Linked DNA regions of Homo sapiens: all the other regions are linked to region 3. Evidence: promoter capture Hi-C in 16 types of primary human blood cells and fetal thymus (Javierre and others, 2016). All regions are on one chromosome and are shown on one strand. Each heading gives the region's core, a stretch centred on a gene start or on the middle of the fragment in contact. The rest is flanking DNA. Distances are from core to core; before and after follow the strand shown.

Region 1 (2,700 bases), core at 157-2,656, 210 kb after region 3:
CCTGGGCAACAAGAGCAAAACTCTGTCTCAAAAATTATAATAATAATAATAATATGCAGTTATTACCTCAGTAGTTATTATTAATGCAGGTGGTACTTTCTTATCGAGATTCGGGCTCCTTTGGTTGTTTATCTTCTCTTTACTTGTAAGCCTTTCTTCATTTAAGTTGGACAAGAGGATTAATAAAAGAAATTTAAACTGTGAAAGTTGCTACTTAAGATTTTTTTTACATTATTTTCCAATCAAACTAGTTAACAAATCTTTTCATATGTACACAGGCAGCTGTGCTTTCACAGTATAACTTGTTTGTGTAAATACAAGCATTTAATTTTTACAGTTCACATTTAGATGATGGAAAATAAACATGTGGAAGCTATGAAAATTATGACAGAACTTTTTCTTACTGCTCTGTTCCTGGTTATACCATCTTTTAGTCAATCACATATCTACCTAAGATATCTTCATAGAATTCCACTCAAAGGATGTGAAGATAATATAAATACCCCCTACTGAGTTTGGCTATCAAAGCCAGAATTGGTTTAACTCTGAGTGTCGTCTAGTTTTGGTTTTTAATTCTGAGGATTGTGTTTTGACAACTGAGAACTCTATTTTTTGGCTTTGAAATGATATGTGGGATTGCACAGCTGTTACTTCCCTAAATGTATACCTAGTCCCATGACGTTTTCAGGGAATACCCTTGTATAACTTAAGGTGCTAGAATTAAGGATGGTCTGTGGTCACACACTAAAGTTGCTAATCATCCAACCTTACTAGTATAAGTCACATTAATTAAAAGCTTATTATAGGCTGGGTGCGCTGGCTCACGCCTGTAATCTCAGCACTTTGGGAGGCTAAGGCGGGAGGATCACTGGAGCCCAGGAGATTGAGACCAGCCTAGGCAACATAAAAAAAATAATAATAAAGCTTATATGCCTGGAATTGTGCTAAGTATTTTACACACATTATTTCATTTAATCCTCTCAACAGTCCTGTGAAATAGGTACTATAATAATCCGATTTTACAGATGAAGAAACTGAGACTCAGAAAGTTGATTTATTCAGGGTCAAGCAGAGAACTAGGATATGAACCCATATCTATCTGATGCTCAAGGCTTTGCTCTTTAAAAAGAAACACAGCTTTGTCGAGAAATAATTCACACACCACACAATTCAGCCATTTAAAATGTACAATTCAATGGCTTTTGCCAAATGGATTTGTGCAACCCTCACCACAATCAATTTTAGAACATTTTATCAGCCCTAAAAGAAATCCTGTCAACTGATGAATAGATAAATAAAACATGGAATATTCATACAATGAAATATTGTTAGGCAAAAAAGAAAGTACTGATACATGCTACAACGTATCTATTTTTTCCTTTTGTTGCTTGCGCTTTCCTGTCATATCTAAGAAAACATTGCCTACTCCAAGGTCATTAAGATTTATGCTTATGTTTTCTCCGGAGAGTTGTATAGTTTTAGCTCTTACATTTAGGTCTTTGAAGCTCTTTCTCGAAACCACTATGCTTTACTGTTTTGTGTGTGCATAAAGACACAAATACAGTCATAACCCATGGATGAGAGAGAAGCATGAAACGCCTGAGTAATTGGCATTTGGGGTTATCTCTGGATTTTAATGATCTGTTTTTCTCCTGCTCCAACTATGCTTGTAATTAAGAGTCAAATCACTTGATCATGTCCTGAATATATTCTAAAATCTCGCTTTGCAAAAACATCTTACATTCCCATTTCCATGACCCTAATTTAGGTCCTCATCTTCTCACCAGTAGGCTATTTTGATAATCTTCTAAGTAGGCCAAGTTCTTCTCTGATGAAATGCACCTCCCTTTATTGAAATCAATTGCTTGTTAATTTATTCATAAGCTTCACTAAGAGAGGAACTATACATTTCTTTTTCACCATCATGCCCCTGGTGTTTAGCATTGTGTCTGGCACATAGTGGGTGCCCCACAAATAATCACAAAGGAAGACTATGTGATCTCCTTATCATGAAACTCTTCTCCTGGACTAAACACTGTTTATGCTGCTGCCAGATTAATATTCCAAACACTGCTCTGATCACTTCACTTCTTGGCTCAAAAACTTTCAAGGTCTCTCTACTGCCTTCTGAGAAGCGCCGCTCTTTTTTTTTTTTTTTTTTTAAGAGACATGGTCTCACTCTATCTCCCAGGTTAGAATGCAATGATGTGTGATCATAGCTCACTGCAGCCTTGAACTCCTGGGCTCAAGTGATCCTCTTGCCTCAGCCTCCTGAGCAGCTAGGACTACACGCACATTTAACTGTCCCTGGCTAATTTTTTTTGATAGAGATTGGGGGTGGGAGGTGTTGCAGGTGTCTCACTATGGTGCCCAGGCTTGTCTAAAACTCCTGGCTTCAAGCATTTTCCTGCCTCAGTCTCCCAAGAGCTGGGATTACAGGTGTCAACCACTGTGCCTAGTCCTCTGACATGACATCCAAGCAAGGGCTGCCATTCCCAGTTCCTTTCAGAACTCACAAGGCAACTTTGGAGTTGGGCAGGCTGCAGGAAACTCCAAGTATGAGAGTGGTCATTTGCTCTTGTCATGAGGTTGCCAGATTCAGGAAATAAAAATGTTGGGCCGGGCGTGGTGGCTCATGCTTGTAATCCCAGCACTTTGGAAGGCTGAGGTGGGAGGTTCAATCGAGTCCAGGAGTTCAAG
Region 2 (2,700 bases), core at 81-2,580, 180 kb after region 3:
TTTTTAATGGATTATTTATTTACTTTAAAATTTTAGATTCAGGGGGTACTTGCGCAGGTTTGTTACACAGGTATTACACAGGTATATTGTGCGGTGCTGAGAATTGGGCTTCTAATGATCGCATCGCCCAGGTAGTAAACATAAACATGTGTTTTCAGCCCTTGCCTTCCTCGCTGCCCCTTTTGGAATCCCCTGCTTATTGTTCCCATCTTTGTGTTCCTGTGTATTTAAATGGGAATTTTAATTTCTTTACATTTATTGAAATTTCCTTTAATGTCCTTCAGTAAGATTGCATAATTTTCTTAGTAAAGGATATGCTCATCTTTTGTTAGCTTTATTAGTAGGTAGGCTTTTAATTTTTGCTCCATTGGGAATAGGACCTCTTTTAAAGCATATTTTAAATTGTTACTGGTGTATAGAAATGAAGTTGACTTCTGTATATTGATTTTACAACAATAAACTCTTTGCAATTGTAATACTTTTTCTGCAGATTATTTTGTAGCCTGGTTTGTATAGCTTTAATTTCTTTTTGTTTTACTGTGCTGGCTAAGACTTTTTATTATACTAGTGAAGTAGAGCGATGACAGTGGACATTCTTTCCTTGGTCCTGATTTTAAAGGAAATACTTCTAATATTTTACCTTTGAGTATGACTTATGGTGTAGGTTTTTGAACATGTCTTTTATCAAGTTAAGGAAGTTCCTATTCCTGGTTTACTAAAAGTTTGTTGTTTTTTTTTTTTTTAGAGAGAGAGTGTAGCTCTGTCGCCCAGGCTGGAGTGCAGTGGCGTAATCTCGGCTCACTGCAACCTCCACCTCCCAGGTTCAAGCGATTCTCCTGCCCCAGCCTCCCAAGTAGCTGAGATTACAGATGCACACCACCATGCCCGGCTAATTTTTGTATTTTTAGTAGAGGTGGAGTTTCACCATGTTGGCCAGGCTGGTCTCGAACTCCTGGCCTCAAGTGATCCACCTGACTCGTCCTCCCAAAGTGCTGCAATTACAGGCGTGAGCCACCTCCCCTGGTTGCTAGAAGATTTTTTAAAAACCAGGAATGGAGATGATCATAAGGTTTTTAACCTTGCTTTTGTTAATGTGGTGCAGATAATTTTTAAAGCCTTTTAGTTAATTCAAAATCATTACTTGGGTTAAGAGAACACAACGTTTTAAATAAAAGCTTTATCATATCAGGATTCAGGCAAAAACAATGAAGTAAAAGTCTGCTAAGATTATAGATCTTTTACCAACTTAATAATTTTTAGTCAATAAAGGGATTTGGAGTTAACTCAGTTTTAAAGGTCTGTAAATCAAAAGGAAGTTTTTCTTTTTTCTGCCTGTAATCAGGTCATAACTTCCAGTTTGCTATGTCATTTGTAAAAGTGTCCAATTCTACATATAGGCCTTTAAGAAGTAATTGCATTATTGAATTAGAGCAATTGGAGAATGTATTATGTTTCAGTTTGGAGAGAATGCCATCCCTAAGCTTCAGGGACATCCCTGCCTTCTGACTTCTCCAAGTCCAGCGGTAAGGAGTCTTGGGAGAATAAGAGAAAGAAAGGGTAGGAAACTGGGCTCTCAGCACCCTTTTCTTGACTACCCTTAATTGCAGGTGTCAGCCTGTGAAATTTTGGCCAACTTCAAGCCTACACGGTAAATATATGTCTTGTGGAAATGCAAACAAACTTGTATTTCTTTATGGACAGTTAGTGATGGCTCTAGTCAAGGTAGATTATTTTTAAAAAACCAAATGTAGGCTGGGCACAGTGGCTCACGCCTGTAATCCCAGCACTTTGGGAGGCTGAGGTGGGTGGATCACTTAAGGTCAGGAGTTCAAGACCAGCCTGGCCAACATAGTGACTCCCCATCTCTACTAAAAATACAAAAATTAGCCAGGCATGGTGGCATGCACCTGTAGTCTCAGCTACTCGGGAGGCTGAGGCAGGAGAATTGCTTGAACCCGGGAAGCGGAGGTTGCAGTGAGCCGAGATTGTGGCACTGCACTCCAGCCTGGGCGACAGAGCAAGACTCTATCTCAAAAAAAAAAAAAAAAAAAAAAAAAAAAAGAAAGCAAATGTACTTTTTGGTGATTTTAATGAGAATACAAAATGATTATTGTTCTTTCTGGCTCTGGATGTTAGCCCAGTGTTTTGTAGTTAACTGTAATGTGATACAGTATGACATAAAATGTCATATGCAATATTATTTCAGACTGACTGTGATATACCTAAGTAGGCCAGAATTAGCACAAAATAGTCCACCTGGAAAAAAACACCCTTATGAAAATGTCAATTCATCCGAGAAATTAAGAATGGAACTATTGACTAAAAATGTTACTTCCGTAGGAAATTAATGATTTTGATAATTTATTAATTAATGAAAAGTTTTTAAAAACATGTTTTGACATATTTTCAATGATGAGTTCTTCTATAATAATAGAAATGTATTTTTACAGCATTGGAGCCAGAATATCTGGGTTTAAATTATAGCTATGCCTTTTATGAATTGTGTTGTCTAGGGCAAATAACTCAGCTCCCTAAGCCTCTACTTCCTCCTCTGTAAAACGGTGACTGTAATAATTACCTCCTAGAGTTGTTAGAAAGATTAAGTGAATTGGCCAGGCATGGTGGCTCACACTTGTAATCCCTGCACTTTGGGAGGCCGAGGCAGTTGGATCACAAGGTCAGGAGATCAAGGCCATCCTG
Region 3 (2,700 bases), core at 28-2,527:
GGCTTGCAAGTCATCTATTCCCTATTCTATTATGGGTCTCTGTTTTCCATGCTGCACTGGGAGAGTGAATCTGGCTGTCTTTCCACAAGGGAGCCCGGAGGTGGCCCTGTCCAATTTAAGCCGAGAGAATAAGGCTCTGCAATAGTGTCAAAGGGGGATTTCTGGGGGTGGTGCCAGGGAGAGTCCAGAGCCCTGTCGTGGGGCAGAGGCCCAGCAGGAGTAGGATGAGGTGGGTGGGGAGTGGAGGGGAACCTTGGCACCAGGGCTGGAGAGTCACCTTACCAAGCTATGGGTAAAGTGCCCTGCCCCTCCCAACCTGGCCTTAACGGTGAGGTCCTGTGTGTCTCGGGGGCCCATGCAGGAACCATGTTCTGGCTGCCTCAGGAGGAGGGCTACACAGAACCCACTAAACCCCGTGGCTACCCGGGGGAAGGGACAGCCTGTGTTAGCTGATGTGGAGCTGCCTACAGTGGAGCCTGGCCCTGGGAATCAGTCAAGCCGCAGGCCACCTCCAGCACCCTGCACCGCCACAGAGCTGGCCCTCCCACGGTCCTTCCACCTCACTGCCAATCCCGCCCCCGGCAGCCGGGGCTACTGACAAACCCCAGAGGAGCTGTGTAAGAGGGGCACCCTCCCCACCTCTGCAAACTCTATCACTCCTCTCCCCACGGGGCGGTGGGTGGGGGAAGCAGGTGGGAACTGGTTTTATCCTCTCACAGGGATGAGTGATGACAAATAAATAAGCCAGAAGTCACCTTCAGTCTCTGGAGAGAGTTTTCCAGGGAGAGCTGCGGGGGAGGGAGGGAGGGAGGGAGGCAGCTCTTCGGCCAAGATGGAGCTGGGAGGGGTGGTCGCGGCCGGGAGGCGGGGGCGACGGGCAGCCCCACGGGGCCGGGGGAGAGGCCGGGTCGCGGGGCGGGAGGGAAGGGTCGGCCCGGCGAGGGTGGGTGCCGGGGGCCGCGGGGCGGGGGCGCACGGGCGCGGCACTCACGTCCTTTTGAAGACGCCCCCGAGGGCGCTGCCCAGCAGGAGGCAGAGCTGCTGCGAGAAGAAGACCCAGGAGATCTGGGGCAGCGAGCTGTGCGTCTGACAGCGCAGGTCCAGCAGCGTGGGCCCCAGGAAGGCGATGCACAGGCCGAAGCTGAAGAAGACGCTCCAGTAGGTGAGCGTGGGCTGCAGGTTGCGGCGGAGCAGCCCCGACACGCGGCCGTCGCAGCCCATGGCGCAGGCTGACGGGCTCGCGGATCTGGTCCCGGCGAGCCCGGTGCCCGAGTGCCGCCCGCGGGAGGGCCGGCCGGGCTGGGGAGGCCCGCGGCGGGGAGGGAGGGGCGGGGAGGGGCCGCCCCAGCGAGGGGCCCCGCCCTTGGGCCCGGGCGGCGGCGGGGGCGCCTCTGCGGCGGGTGGGCAGTGCGTCCGCTCCCGCGCCTTCCCCGTGCGGTGCCAGGCGCCGGCCTCCCCCTCCTACCCGAGCGCACATGCTCGCCCTCCCCCGGCTGCGGAGACCAACCGGGAGCCGCGCTGCCCCCCGCCCGCTCTCCCTCGACCAGTCCCCCCAGCCTCCGGATGCAGCCCCCAGGGACCGAGCGCCCATTTTAGAGCCCGGCAGATGGAGAGCCCGAGACATCCTGTATCTCCGGATAAGGCTAGGGGCCCTCTCCCCGCACCCGGGCTGTGGCAGTGGAGGAAACCCGGACCCCTTTAAACCTAGGCGCTTCACAGATGGACTTCGAGGGTCTAACGGCACCCCCCTTTCCCCCAGAACAGAAGGCAAAATCTTGTTGTACATATGTTTCTCCTTGGGAGAGTATTCGTGCATGGCTTTCATTAGAACCCCAAGAGGTTAATCACATTGCCCTTTAGAAGGAGAACCCTAGAAACTCAACATCTTCCTCACACTAAGCTCCCTGGAAGGGCCTGAGATGAGGCCCTCCTCCCCACCTGGCCAGGTGCGGGAAGGAGGAGGATGACGCTGGTCTATGCTGACTCTCTCTCTCTCCTTCTAACTAGTTGGAGGAGGGCAGAGAGGGAAGGGCCGCGTCCTGGAGGAACCCCGGGAGGAATTCTGAAATAATCTCCTAGAAAAAAAAATTTAAAAAGAGTTCTGGGGAAAATTCTTTCTTCCATGGATAAATCCCTGGCAGTGAGTAGGGGTTGATTATTCTCTAGACTGGGTGTCCTTCGAGGAGCCTGCAGCTGACCTAGGCTGTCCCTTCATTAGGTGGCCTCGGGCTGGCTGGTGGGTTCTGTGTGTTCCCGCTCCTAAGGGAGCCAGGATCTGGCCCCTGGAGGCAGAACAGTAAGGCCCTGCGGTGTCCCCTCTGCCCAGGTCTTCTGGTAATGACAGGAGCCATGACATCATTTCCACTGGCCCACCAGGGGGACCAGGGCTGAAAAGACTGAGGAGGTATGTGGGCGGGTGTCCCCAAGACAACTTGGCATGAGGTGGGGCAACCAATTTCTCTTGCAGGTACTGGTCCCATCTCATAGCCGCACCCCTGCATCTGCCCTATCCCTTCTTGGACAGTGAGCCCCAGAGAAGGGGGAGCCCCAGGGTCCCTCTGGCTCATCACTCTGTGGGTAATGACAAGTACTTATTCGATAGTGATGATGGGGGGCCTGCACAGTAATTGTAATAAACTGAAAAGCTACCCTCTGGGGGAAAAAAAAAGAAAAAACACCAAACAAATCATAACCACAAGT

Evidence for each region. Contacts are between HindIII fragments. The CHiCAGO score rates a contact against its expected background, and 5 or more counts as called.
Region 1: a contact is called between a fragment that was not itself captured here and the fragment with the promoter of SLC60A1 in region 3, in 2 of 17 cell types (endothelial precursors and M0 macrophages). The highest score is 5.2, in endothelial precursors.
Region 2: a fragment that was not itself captured here is called in contact with the fragment with the promoter of SLC60A1 in region 3 in 1 of 17 cell types (M1 macrophages); the score reaches 5.1 in M1 macrophages.

Annotation. Positions count from the first base shown.
Region 1 is chr1:205,361,560-205,364,259 of GRCh38, reverse strand. No RefSeq gene overlaps it. Among named protein-coding and RNA genes, the nearest start is that of KLHDC8A, 6.0 kb to the right of the region's middle. The HindIII fragment of the contact is 960 bases long and covers 927-1,886 here.
Region 2 is chr1:205,388,399-205,391,098 of GRCh38, reverse strand. The region is part of intron 4 of LEMD1 (LEM domain containing 1); the gene reads left to right. Among named protein-coding and RNA genes, the nearest start is that of LEMD1-AS1, 16 kb to the right of the region's middle. The HindIII fragment of the contact is 306 bases long and covers 1,178-1,483 here.
Region 3 is chr1:205,567,591-205,570,290 of GRCh38, reverse strand. It overlaps SLC60A1 (solute carrier family 60 member 1), which reads right to left and starts at 1,277. Exons shown (of 10, transcript NM_181644.5): 1 at 992-1,277. The coding sequence starts at 1,221. SLC60A1-AS1 (SLC60A1 antisense RNA 1) reads left to right here and starts at 986. Exons shown (of 4, transcript NR_152721.1): 1 at 986-1,162. RefSeq lists enhancers at 1-446, 447-996. The HindIII fragment of the contact is 4,650 bases long and covers 1-2,700 here.